2 separate regions of the Homo sapiens genome follow, and region 1 is linked to region 2. Evidence: promoter capture Hi-C in human tissues and cell types (Jung and others, 2019). All regions are on one chromosome and are shown on one strand. Each heading gives the region's core, a stretch centred on a gene start or on the middle of the fragment in contact. The rest is flanking DNA. Distances are from core to core; before and after follow the strand shown.

Evidence for each region. Contacts are between HindIII fragments. The study calls those that stand out against the background at their distance.
Region 1: a fragment that was not itself captured here is called in contact with the fragment with the promoter of FAM83D in region 2 in 2 of the 25 tissues and cell types used here (liver and stomach).

The regions. Positions count from the first base shown.
Region 1 is chr20:39,083,902-39,090,963 of GRCh38, reverse strand. No RefSeq gene overlaps it. Among named protein-coding and RNA genes, the nearest start is that of DHX35, 130 kb to the right of the region's middle. The HindIII fragment of the contact is 4,162 bases long and covers 2,818-6,979 here.
Region 2 is chr20:38,920,892-38,927,791 of GRCh38, reverse strand. It overlaps FAM83D (family with sequence similarity 83 member D), which reads right to left and starts at 1,375. Exons shown (of 4, transcript NM_030919.3): 1 at 867-1,375. The coding sequence starts at 1,349. PPP1R16B (protein phosphatase 1 regulatory subunit 16B) reads right to left here. Exons shown (of 11, transcript NM_015568.4): 11 at 4,768-6,900. RefSeq lists enhancers at 1,188-1,287, 6,567-6,900 and a silencer at 1,398-1,757. The HindIII fragment of the contact is 31,187 bases long and covers 1-6,900 here.

The DNA.
Region 1 (7,062 bases), core at 3,649-6,148, 160 kb before region 2:
GGCAATGAGAGAGTTTGGTGGCTCCAACACTCTCCTGCATTTTAAAGAGCCACACTCTTAGGGATAAGTCAATTCAAAGCAGATAAATGGCTGGGCAGACATTAACCTTTAACCACCCTGAGCTACCTTAACTCTCAAGTTGGTTGCAGGAAGGATTCTGGGAAATGGGCAAGTTAGGGCCCCAAGCTGTCCCCAGAAGAAGCCATCCAGGAGAGCGGACAGAGAAGCTACTCACAGTACTGGACTGGAGGCAGGGCCCTGAAAGCCGGCATCCCTGCAGGGAGGGTGAGCTCCAGCTCCAATTCCAGGGTTGGGTGTGCAGGGACCTCAGCCTCATGTATGGGGAGCAGAGGGTGAGACCACCAGGTGTGTCTGAATAGGGTAAAGAGACCCAGAAAAGCTGGCTAGGAGAGACAGTGCCCATATCTCCCATCTCATTCTTCCCAGTAGACTCAATGGCCTGCTGTGGACTGTCCCTTTCTGATCTTTCTCCCCAGCAGGAGCCCAGGGACCCTGTTCTAAGGTGAGAAAGGTTCTCCCTGTCCCCGCAGCATTCTAGCCAGTACCGCTTAGAAGTCCTCTTATGACACAGGATGCAAAATGCATGTCCCTACAGGGTACCTAAACAGTCTATTCTCATTGACAACAGTGTGAATGGTGTCATCTAGAGCTGTGGAGTCCACAACGTGGGCAACTGTTCACAGTGGACTTCTCAGGTACTGTCTTGGAACTGAAACATTCAAGAGGTCTCCCAGAAATTCTCTTCTCCATCCCCTCCTGTCTTCCCCTAAAGATAACAGGAACTTCTCAAAAGAGGCTGAGGACAGCAACACCAGGGTCTTGTCTCTGGACTCTTACCATCTCTAGCCAGCCTCTGGACTTCTCTCCTTTGTCCTCATCCCATGCTCCATCTTCCCAACTCTGATTCAGGCATGTTATTACAGAACACCCTCAGAATGGCAACAGGTGTCCAGGTTTGAATTCAAACACAGCCACCAACCGTGTGGCTGTGGCACTTTAACCAACCTCTTTGTTTCTCCATTTTCTTCTCTGTAAAATGAGAATTATAATATTGTCAGGGCTGCTGTGAGATTCAAAGAGTTCATGAGGGTAAAGTGCCCTGGCATAGCATCATGCTTAATGGATGGTTATTGCTACTCTGAATGATAGTGAATGAGGGGTCCCTGGGAGCCTCCCCCATGCTCTGGTTTAGCAAGGAAGATTTAAAAAAAAAAAAAAAAATCCTAGAAAGAATGGAATTAATTCCCCACCAAGAAACAGAACAGGCCAGGTGCAATGGCTCATGCCTGTAATCCCAGCACTTTCAGAGGTTGAGGGGGGTGGATTGTTTGAGCTCAGGAGTTTGAGACCAGCCCGGGAAACATGGCAAAACCATGTCTCTATAAAAAAAATACCACGATTAGCTGAGCATGATGGCACAAACCTGTAGTACCAGCTACTGGGGAGCTGAGGTGGGAGGATCGCTTGAACCCAGGAGACAGAGATTGCAGTGAGCTGAAATGGCACCACTGCACTCCAGCCTGAGCAACAGAATGGGACCTAGTCTTAAGAAAAAGAAGGAAGGAAAAAGGAGGGGGGAGGGGAGAGGAAAACAGGACAGCCCAAGGCAAAGGATAATGAAAGTTTGAGATGAAGCTTCGGCATCTTGGCTGCTCAGACAGCAGCAGTGCTCTGGCCTTTGGGACAGTCTACCTCTTCTGAGAAATCACACAGGACAATATAGAAGATGCCAGAGCATTGCTGAGCTGAGCCCCACAGGCAGGGTGGTGGAAGTGAGCTCTCTGCTGGGGCTCCAGTAGTGGTTTCATGCAGCCCAGTTGTGGCTGGGACTGCAGTAGGTGATGGGTGGCTGCCTTCCTGAAGCACCTACTGGGTACAACATATTTTATTGCTTCAACTCCAAGCTCATGACAATTATCGATACAGTCATTTGTTTTATTTCTCTTTCTCACTAGGCAATCGTCAACATCAAATCACAGACTTCATCAGTCTCATCCGTCACTATATCCCTAATGCTTAGCATGATGCCCAGCCCGTACTAGGTCCTTGATAAATATTTGCTCAATGAATGAATGAACATTGTAGGGGAGATGTCATTATCACCATTTGACAGGTATGGTTCAGAAAGGTTAAGTGACTTGCCCAAAGCCACACAGCTATGAAGGGATTTACAGCCACACTGGAATTAGGGGCAGAAAGGGAAAATCCTTTTGCAAGCACCTGCAGCACGCCTGCCATTGCATGGGGCACTTTACCTGCATTATCACATTTGCTCCCTAGGAGCAAGACACTCCTGTCCCCATTTCATAAAAAGCAAGATTTGCTGGGGAATATTAAGTGGCTGGCCTGAGGTTGCACAGCTAGCTGTAGGGCCATAAAAAGGGCCAATCCTATTATTCTGTTCCCCTCTGCATTGCACTGGCTCCTCACAAGAACGGCTCAGGACAAGACAATGTGACATTTTAGTGACACAATGGCAAGAAGCTCCTAAGGAATGGAGGCCTAGGCTGACGCTGAAGTCCTGCCAATGACGGATAGCAGGGACCCACACACGCCACAGCTTGGGAGCACCTGTGCCTTCTGGATCAACGAGAATGATCTTCCAGCTGCAGAGGGAGAAGGGACAGTAAGGAGAAGGAACTGGCAGCCATGGTGGCAGGAAGAACCAATGACAGCACCCAGGGCCATAAAGGAATCACCCTAGACTCAAGGGAAGCACCCTCAGAGGAGAAGAAGCTGTGGTTTCCACTAACCAAGGGCCAGGGAGAATAATGTCAACCCCAGGCCAGATTCTGGAAGGGGTTATTGAGTAGAACTTATTATTTTATTCTAATGATCTTACGCACACACGAGTGTATGTGTGCAGGCACAAACATAAAAACACACACACTCACTATGTACAGGAAAATACAGTCAGCCTTCCATATCTTTGGACTCCACACCCATGGATTCGACCAGCCACTGACTGAATAAATTCAGAAAAAATACAAAATAACAATGCAAAATTAAAATATAAATCATATAAATATAAATAATAAAAATTATAAATAATATAAATAGTATAACAATTATTTATATAGAATTTACATTGTATTAGGTATTATAAGTAACCTAGAAATTATTAAAAGTATACAAAAGGGCTGGGCACGGTAGCTCATGCCTGTAATCCCAGCACCTTGGGAGGCCAAGGCAGGCAGATCACCTGAGGTCAGGAGTTCAAGACCAGCCTGGCAACATGGTGAAACCCCAGTCTCTACTAAAAATACAAAAATTAGCCAGGCATGACGGCACACATCTGTAATCCCAGCTACTCAGGAGGCTGAGGCAGGAGAATCGCTTGAATCCGGGAGGCAGAAGATGCAGTGAGCCGAGATTGTACCACTGCACTCCGGCCTGGGCAACAGAGCAAGACTCTGTCTCAAAAAAAAAAAAAAAAAAAAAGTACACAAAAGGATGTTCATATGTTGTATGCAAATACTATGCCATTTTATATCAGAGACTTCAGCATCCATTGATTTTAGAATCCAAGGGGTATCCTGGAGCCAATACCCTGTGGATACCAAGGGACAACTATATATGGTATCTTTTCATGAACTTATATTTTAACATAAATGGTATCTTACTTGAAGTTATCATTCAGCAACTTGTTTTCATAACTTGACCATATGTCTTGGAGATACTACCATCTTGATAGAAACAGATCCACTTCATTGTTTTTAATGCTCTGAGGCATTGTTTTAGTGCTGAGGCATTCCAGATATAGATGCATCATTGTTTATTTAGCCAGCCCCCTGATGATGGCCATTTGGGTTGTTTTTAACATTTTGCCACACTCTAGAGCTTACTGATATCACTTCCACCACATTCTGCATGTCAATGCAGATGACAAGGCAGCTTAGGAAAGTAGACTATTTTTTAATGGAAGGGACTAAAAAATATTGTGGCCATGTTTTTAAGCTTATTTTGGTCCACTCTCTGCTACAATTACTTTCATTTCTTCCACATTCAAAATATGCTCATTCTCCCCTCCCACAAAATGTCTCATGCCATTATAGCTTCATGTTCAGAACCTTGAGTTCTTGTCTTAGCTCAGGCTGCCGTAACAAAATACCATAGACTGGGGGGCTTAAACAAGAGAAATTTATTTTCTCAGTTCTGGAGCTTGCAGTCCAAGATCCAGGTGCCAGCATGGTCAGGTTCTAGTGAGGGCTCATTTCCTGGCTTGCAGACAGCCACCTTCTTGCTGTGTCCTCACATGGCCCTCCTTGGTTCGTGTCCATGAAGCAAGGGAGAGATTTCTCTCTTCCTCTTCTAAGGCCACCAATACTATTAGATTAAGACCCCACTATTATGACCTTATTAACCTCAACTACCTCCTAAAAGGCCTAACTCCAAATACAGTCACATTGAGGGTTACAGCTTCAACCTATGACTTTGGGAAGAGACAATTCAGTTGATAGCACTTCTGAATCAGGGACAGAGGCAGATGGGCTTCATAAGGTGCAGCTCCTACTACTCACCCCCATACTCAACATATAAAGATGAAAAAGAGGGCCGGATGCAGTGTGGCTCCTGCCTGTAATCCTAGCACTTTGGAAGGCCAAGGTGGGTGGATCGCTTGAGGCCAGGAGTACAAGACCAGTCTGGCCAACATGGAGAAAACTCTACTGAAAACACAAAAATTAGCTGGGCGTGCTGGTGCCTGCCTGTAATCCCAGCTACTGAGGAGGCTGAGGCACAAGAACCACTGTAACCCAGGAGGCAGAGGTTATAGTGAACTGAGATTGCACTACTGCACTCCAGCCTTGGCAACAGAGCGAAACTCTGTCTCAAACATAAATAAATAAAGATGAAAAAGGGACAGGATATTCGCAATAGGCATTCCCAGACAAAAAGGGGAGGAACCGGAGGTACTTAGTGGTCCCTGGTTCATAGAAACATCAAAATCCAGCAAAGCACAGGTTGTCAATTCCCTCTGCTTCCAGGGGCAGGGAACAGCCCTTGATTCGGGTCCAATTCTGCTTCCTTGGAGTGATTCCCTAGTCCATTGTTCTCTATGGCTCTTAACTTTCCTCTCTGGACTCTTGGTTCTCCTCTCCTAATCATCCTTCTGTTTGCATAAGAAATGGCTGATATTTATAGCTACATAGTTTTTTTCAGCCTTTCTGCTCTTAGAAAATTGGAGACTCAGAGGCCTGTTTTTATTTTGAAAAGTTGCAGTCACTTTTTGTACACACTTACAGTGTTTTCACTGATACAGATATCTTGAAAATGTTATGGGTTTTCTATGCATCTGACTGAGGTTCATTTCAGTTGAAACAGGCTTCTCTTTCTCTTCTTCCCTCCTGTTGGACCCTTAAGAGTCTTAGAAACCACAGTGTCTAGCTAAAGGGTCTGCTAGTACCACCTTAAGTCTTTCAGAGGGTTTAACAAGGGGTCTTACAGCAACATCCTTAATTTTATCCTTAGACCCAGGTCTTATCTTACTTTGAGAATTTGTTACTGGCTGGATGAATGGAGATATGAGGCAGTTTTCTTTTCCAACCTCAACAAGTCCCAGGCCTTCTAGACTTCTCTAAAATATGGGCATTGGCTGATGCACATTGTCTTGCATAATCCTCACAGGGGCTCTGGGAAGAAGGACAGTCCCCCTCCCTTTGCAAATGAGGACGCTGAGGCTCAGGAGATGGTTCAAACTCACAAAGCCAGGAAGCATCAAAACTGGAGTTAGAACCCTTTCATTCATGCATGCAACAAGTATTTGTTGAGCCCATCTGAGTGCTATTCTAAGCTCTGGAAATAGAGCAGCAAAGAGAAGAGACAACGCCCTGTCCTCATGGAATCTACAATCTAGTGGAAGAGACAGACCTTAGACAGTAAACAAATAAATGACATTTCAGATGGTGGCTGTTACAAAATAATTTTAAAATAACAAGGCAGAGGTGGAGTGATAATGTATACCAGATGGAGACGGGGTCATGGGGCAGGGAGACATTGCTGTTTATAAGGAGTGCCCAGGGAAGGCTGCCCTGACACCTGACCTTCAGGACATAAGAATACTGTGCAGATATCCTCCCAAGCGTGGTGCCTCACAACTGTAATCCCAGCACTTTGGGAGCCCGAGGTGGGTGGATCACTTGAGGCCAGGAGTTCAAGACCAGCCTGGCCAGCATGGTGAAACCCCATCTCTACAAAAAATACAAAAATTAACCAGGTGTGATGGCCCACGCCTGTAATCCCAGCTACTCAAGAGGCTGAGGCATGAGAATCGCTTGAACCCAGGAGGTAGATGTTTCAGTGAGCCAAGACTGCTCCACTGCACTCCAGCCTGGGTGACACAGTGAGATTCTGTCTCAAAAAATAAATACTGTGCCGATATCTGGGGAAAGAGCATTCCAGGTAGAGGGGACTGCTGGGGCAAAGGCCTAGAGACCTTTAAGAACAAGAAAGTAAATTGTCTTGAGAGGCATGAGCGAGGAGGGTAATGAGAGGTGAGGTCAGGGAGGAAAAGGAGAAGGTGAGGAAGACCGTGGAGGGTCTTAAAGGAGAATCATGCAAGGATAGGACTTCACCCTGAATGAGACCCAGGTGAGAGCATGATCTAGTTTCCATTTTTACAGGATGCCCCTGGATCTTCCACTCAACATGTCAGGACCCTCTTGGCTAGGACTGAAGAGCTCTAGTTAAAGGTAGGTAGGAAAAACCTTTCTCCCAATCCCATCCCATCCAGGGCACCCTCAGGCCCCATCCTCCCAGCCCTGCTGGGCTTTGGCTCCGGTTGCTTTCTCTCCACCCTGGAGCCCAACAGCCACCCTCCCTTCTCCTCCTCCCTGGAGTCACTCACTTCCAAGACAAATGGCAGCTTCTTTCTGCCCATCCGTCACTGCTCTCAGGCCCATCCATTAGCGGCCGCTCCCCACCCTGCCCCCAGCCCCACTGTCCTTGCTTGGGGATGGGGTCCATTGATCAGAGGCCCATCTGCCACTTGTCACATTCTGGTGGCCTGACAGCAGGAGACAGAGCTGTTGCTGGCCAGGCCAG
Region 2 (6,900 bases), core at 126-2,625:
TGCGGTGGCTCACGCCTGTAATCCTAGCACTTTGGGAGGCCGAGGCGGGTGGATCACCTGAGGTCAGGAGTTCGAGACCAGCTTGGCCAACATGGAGAAACCCCGTCTCTACTAAAAATACAAAAATTAGCCGGGCGTGGTGGCGGGCACCGGTAATCCCAGCTACTTGGGAGGCTGAGGCAGGAGAGTCACTTGAACCCGGGGGACGGAGGTTGCAGTGAACTGAGATCCCACCACTTCACTCCAGCCTGGGCAAAAGAGAATCTGTCTCAAAAAAAAAAAAAAAAAAAAAAGACAAGAAAGAAAAAGCGGCAGGGCTCTCACTTTGCCACTCTCGTGTTTATCTGCTTTTTACAGCAAAAGATGCATGAAAGTAATTAGCAATAATAATTGCTTCCTAATGCCCCGTAGTTGTCTCTGGAGACCATCTTTCTGGAACTTTCCCTGCGTAAGTTCTTTGGTAATGAGTCTCCTAAGAAGCTCCTGAAAGTGGGATCTAGCGTTGGCTGACAGACAGGGAAATAGGCAATTTTCCAAGTTTGATTTTAACTGAAATTTGGAACTCAGAGTACTTCTGGTCCCTCCTTCAGGGATATGAACGTTAGGAGATGGAACCCGGGCACAATTCGCATCCTTGGGAACCGAGGCTTTCCCACTATCCCCTGCCACGAGGAGCGGCCCGGGGGATCCGGGGGAGACACGCAGAGTGGGGTGTGAGTCGGAGACCCTGGGACCACCTAGCCCGCGCGCGCTTCCGGTAGGGCGCAGAGGAGGTAGTGGCCCCGGCCCGTACTCCCAGCAGGCCTCAATTTCCCATTCTTGAAGGGGGTCTCCCGTGCGACCCAGGGCCCTGGAGGGCCGCTCACCTCTCGCGCCGAGCGGAGCTGCTGGCGCAGAGCGTCCTTGCAGCCGTAGGGGCCACCTTCGCCAGCGCCGCGGGGCTGGAAGTGCGTCTCGACACGCGTGGCGCCGCGGTAGGCGCCCTGGTAGAAGGCGGGCCAGCCAAGCTCCAACAGCGGTGGCTCCAGGTCCGACTGCTCGGGGAAGTAGGTGCCCGAAGAGCAGTCGTGCGAGGAGCCGAACGAGTCCTCGGCCGCCGCCGCCGCCGCCGCGCCCTCCTCTCCCGGCCTCTCCGCCGCGCGCAGAATGGCGTGCACCTCATCGGGGTTCAGGAAACGAGCCAGGCGCTCGCGTCGCAGGAAGGCCGCGAAGGCTTCGGGGCCGCCCGCCACCAGCTCCTCCAGAGCCAGGCGCCGTGACTCGCTGAACAGCTCGGTCGGGTTGGGCGGCCCGCACGGCGACAGGCAGGCGGCGGGCACCTCGTCCAGGCCCTCGGACAGCAGAGCCATGGCGGCGCTCGGACTCGACAGCCCTCGGACAAAAACCGGCGTGCAGTCCCGCTTTATAGGCAACCTTTGAATCAAACAGGCCCGCGCCATTGGCCGCACCTCCCCGCCTCGGCTCTCCCATTGGCTGCTTTCCTTCCAATAGCGGAGCGAGGCGGGGCGCAAGCCTCTACGGCTCCGCCCCCTGATGCGTTATTGGCTGCGATGCTGGGCTTGCTAAGAGGAATTTAAACTTGCAGGGGCGAGGCGGGCCGCAGAGCAGGGACAGAGCGGGGAGAGCCGAGCTCCTGGCCATCCCAGCGCGCCCCCTGCCGGTCGCCCCGCTGCGCGGCCGTGCAAGGCCAGGGACAGTCAGGCCTAGACAACGAGGAGAGGCAGGTGCCGACTCCCGGAGACTCTGGCCACGCTGCTCCTAGGCTCTCAGTGCTTTGGCATGGCCAACCATATCGCCTTTATCACCTGCCTTTAACCATGTATTCATTCATTCAAAGAATACCGGCTCATCGTATTAGGACTGCTCCTTTGATTACACCCTCGGGTAGTCTTCTCTCATTTCATCGATTTTTGCCTTGTAAAACCCCAACCAACCGTGGTTATACCCTACTTTCCACCTGCACCCCGGCAGCCCTACAGGGCTGAAGAAAAAACAAAAAGAGCGTAACCATGCTTACTGACTGGTCATGTTTTAAATTCATAATCCGTAAGACTGCCTGCTAGGAGGCCGGGCGCGGTGGCTCACGCCTGTAATCCCAGCACTTTAGGAGGCCGAGGAGGGCGGATCACCTAAGGTCAGGCGTTTGAGACTAGCCTGACCAACACGGTGAAACCCCGTCTCTACTAAAAATACAAAAATTAGCCAGGTGTCTTGGTGTACGCCTGTAATCCCAGATACTCGGGAGGCTGAGGCAGGAGAATCACTTGAACGCGGGAGGCGGATGTTGCAGTGAGTCGAGATAGCACCACTGCACTCCAGCCTGGGCGACAAGATCGAAACTCCATCTAAAAACAAAACAAAACAAAACAAAAGCAAACAAACAAAAAAACTGCCTGGTAGGCCGCATTTCCCTCATTCTCTCTACCTTTTCCTCTCTGACAGCTTGTCTTCCATGTCAGCAAGAACACAGAAACAGTAAGAAGGGAACGTCCACGTGCGGCCATCTAGTCTACCTTCCTGTCTGCATCTCTGCCCGTATACTGGGCATTGATGAACTGTGCCTGTGCCCATCCAACCCCAACCCCTCTGCCTGGGCATTTCCAGCCCCTCTACTACTCACCAGCATCGCTCCAGCAATCTTCTTCTTTCTCCTGGAACATCAGCTTCCCTCTTTACCGATTCATTTCTATCAGCCTACAAGCATGCTGAAATATTTTTCATCTTAAAACAACCCTCTCTTGACCCTACATTCCTCTAAAGCTCCCCATCTCACTTCTTATTTTTGCAGCATAGAATCTCAGATGTGGCTGGCCATGGTGACTTACACCTGTAATCCCAGCACTGTGGGAGGCCAAGGGAAGAGGATCACTTGAGCCCAGGAGTTTGAGACCAGCCTGGGCAGCATAGTGAGACCCTGTCTTTACAAAAAAATACAAAAGTTAGCTGGGCATGGTGGTGCGCCTAACTTTTAGTGCATGGCAGTGCTCATGATGGTCCCAGCCAGTGGGAAGGCTGAGGCAAGAGATCACTTGAGCCCAGGAGTTTGCAGCTGTAGTGAACTATGATCACACCACTGCACCCCAGCCTGGGTGACAGAGTAAGACCCTGTCTCAGAAAAAGAAAGAAAGAAAAGAAAAGAAAAGAAACCCTCAAACCAGTTGTCTATACTTGCTGTCTCCAGTTCCCTTCCAGCCCTCTTCAATCAGGCTAAAACCCCCACTGCTTTACCAAAACCTCTTGTCAGGTTCATCATGAGTTCCACAGAGCTAAATCCAACAGTCAATTTTCAGTCGTCATCTTTTTTATGTAAATGAAAAGTGGGTCATAAATGTGAGATGTTACCATTATTATTTAGCAACCAATAACCTTTTTAAATGGATGAATGCCTGCCGCTGTTGAGACGCCTCTCCCTCTCTACCTCTCCTCTCCCCATCCCCATCCCTTTGTGAAGTTTCTCAAGAATAAGTGTGGGGACTTCCATGTGTCCCTGCGCTGGTATCCAGGGTCCGGGAGGCTGCAAGAGAGCACCTTCTTTTTTTTTTTTTTTTTTTTTTTTTTGAGACGGAGTCTTGCCCTGTCACCCAGGCTGGAGTGCAATGGCGTGATCTCGGCTCACTGCAACCTCCGCCTCCAGGGTTCAAACGATTATCCTGCCTCAGCCTCCTGAGTAGCTGGGATTACAGGCTCATGCCACCACACCTGGCCAATTTTCTGCATCTTTAGTAGAGATGGGGTTTCATCACGTTGGCCAGGCTGGTCTCGAACTCCTGACCTTGTGATCCGACACCCTTTTCATCCTCTTTCAAGAAAAACACCAACAAAGTTCTGTGTGGGACAAGGACCAAGGACTGTGGTCTGAGGCTGTGCAACCACATAGCTTCTCTATGCCTTTAATGCTCGAGGTAAAAAATGAGAATGGCCGGGGCCTTAGCTGCTGTATTGCTGTCATAAGGTGAAGTACTTTATAGTATCGTACTTCCCCACAATAAGCACACGAGGGGAAAGAGTGGAATGGGGCAGGGGGAAGAGGACAGGACATGTCAGTTCACTCCAAGAATGGGACAGAGGAGAGGGGCACCCTTGTTACATATAAATGTCATGAGAGGCGGGGCGTGGTGGTTCACGCCTATAATCCCAGCACTTCGGGAGCTCAAGGCGGGAGGATCACTTGAGGTCAGGAGTTGGAGACCAGCCTGGCCAACATGGTGAAACTCTATCTCCACTAAAAATACAAAAAATTAGCTGGACATCACGGCGAGCGCCTGTAATCTCAGCTACTTGGGAAGCTGAGGCAGGAGAATTGCTGGAACCCGGGAGGCAGAGGTTGCAGTGAGCTGAGATCACGCCACTGCACTCCAGACTGGGTGAAAGAGTGAGGCTCCATCTTAAAAAAATAAAAATAAATAAATAAATATCAGGAAAAACTTTGAAAATGTATGGAATAAATATATGCTACTATACGGCCTCATGTTAATTTCAAAGAGATTATTTGACAGAATGAAGGTCATTCCCAACCACCCACCTTTTCTTGAATTCATCAGTTTTCACCATCTCCTAGTCTGGGGAGACATCTGCTCCAGGTCTGAGCCCCCAGAGCTCCCTCTATTTCAGGGGTCTCATGGGAAAGCCCTCTGTGGGAAAGGGGTGGGGTAAGGGGGAAGAGACTAGGAGCTCTCACCCACCCTCTATTCCAGGAACCTCCTCTTTGTGAATTCAAGTCAGCACTGTTCAAGTGAGCTCACAGCAATAATCACTCACACTAGCAGGTGTTATTAAAAGGAATTTAATAATTTTAATTAAAAACTCTTAACAGCGAATTCTGTCACAGGCCTTGGCAGCTGGAAGCAACTCCAGGGACATGTGCCCCCTTTGGGATGTGGCTGAGCCACAGTTTTGGACCCAAGGCCCACCGGTGCCGCGTGGCAAGGGGCTACGTGGAAGTTACCTCAGTACGATATCAAAGATCTGCGAAGATTTTTTTTAAAAAAGTTTTAAATATATTAGACTCTCTTGATTGCCATTTTTACACAAAGCTGCTGATACAGTATACAGAGTTTTAATTTTTTTTCACATAAAATACATTTTTTTAAGTGTTCTCTGTACACCAGTGGCTTCTGGTCTGGTGAATTATTGCGGAGGGCTGGGGGTCTGCAGACTTTTCCTGGGTGTGCAGAGCCAGGCCCCGCACGGTGGCACTTGCAATGCCCATGGGAAGCAGGCCCTCTGGCCAACAAGAGAGACCTGTTGGGGAGAGGGCTATAGCTTCTGGCACAGGGGGTCACTTTTGCAGAGTCATCCACTGACCATTGGAGCCTTTGCTCTTATGTGCCCTGGGGCAGGGGAGACCATCCCCAAGTTACAAATAGCAAGAGTTAAATACAGCTTTTCTGGGCATCTTAAAAGGAGCACCCTTCTTAAAAGTACCCCAGTATCCTGCTCTAGGAGAGAGAGCAGGTAGGTGAGAGAGCTCAGGATGGGAAGGTATCTGACACCAACAACCACAATGGTCTTATGTTATTACAAAGCCAGCAAACCGGTGGGGCAGGACAGGGGACACACCCTTGTTAGCTTTTCTAAGCCCCTTGGAAATGGATTAAACAGTGCAGAGCAGTTTTACTTATGCTGTATATTTGATGGAGAATTCTATCCTGAAGTCTTTAGTAGCCCTGGGCCTAGAGTTTATTCAGCTTCCCCAAGCTACTTGCCAGAAACTCACAGTCTGGTGATAACCGCCAACTTTCAGTTGTTTGGGGCATATGATGGTGAGCCATGCAGCACCTGCTTTGGAAGTGGTCTCCTTTAATCTAATGAGGAGCTGCCATAGGACCTGGGTCTCAGCAGGAGCTAGGCATCTGGTTGACTTTGCCTGGTTACTCCCAGCTCCCGAATCCACCCCTGCCATGGAGGGAGGCAGATTCCCAAGGAAAGGCTTTGATGCTGAAGGAAGCAGCAACTTTTCCTCCCATTATCCATTAGTGGGGTGAGGGGACTATGTAATAAATGAGCCACCATGAGCAAGAAACAATGACTTTAAAAACCTGAGATGCATTTGGCAGCAAATTGCAGAACAGTCTTCTAGACACTGATCTCAAGCTGCTATTATAGAGTCCCCCAAAGATGCTGGCTGAAGGCAGCTATCACTGAAAGTTCCAGATGGACCTGGATGATGTCTGCCTGGAACCCAAGATCCAGCATCTATACTTGGTGGCAAATGTTATCCAGGGGTGACCATGACAGCTGTTCCCAGCTAAAGGAATTCAGACTCTAAGGATTCTAGGAGCCGAAAAGCAAAGGGTCGCTGGACGAAGATGCAGACACTTTGCCTCAGGTGACTTGAATGGGACTGCTGATGCCTGTGGTCCCCAAGGGACGGAAACCACAAGGAACAGTTCTCCTGACTCTGTCTTATTCCTCCTTTATCCGCAGAACCTAACGTAGAGGCTGGCATGTTGCAGCTACTCAGTAAATTACGTGAGTGAATTAATGAATGACCGCGGCTCATTCATTGGAGGTTGGTCTCCAACTTGTCTCTCAACACCCAGGAGACCTACAGGGAAAGCTCCCCAGGGACTTAAAGCCCCAAGAAGGGATGGTTTATCCCTGGCTGAAAACATGAGCCAATGCCTGAGAGTCACCTGTGTGTGAAGTCGGCTCCTGTCAGGGAATCAGCTGGGATTCCCAGCCTTCTGGGTGGAGAGGAATAGCCCAGGAGGCAGGAGGCATGCGGAAAAGGAGGGAATGGCCTCAGGCGCTCAGTGGGTTGGGCAGTACGTGCCTTCAGTGTTTGGCCCCTGAGCAAAAAGATCGGAAAACCTAAACAGCTCTCTCCTGAGGAGCACGCGGCTTCCCTCAGAACTCCCTACCTTGTAGCTAAGGTTGGCTCATGAGGGATTTCAGCGT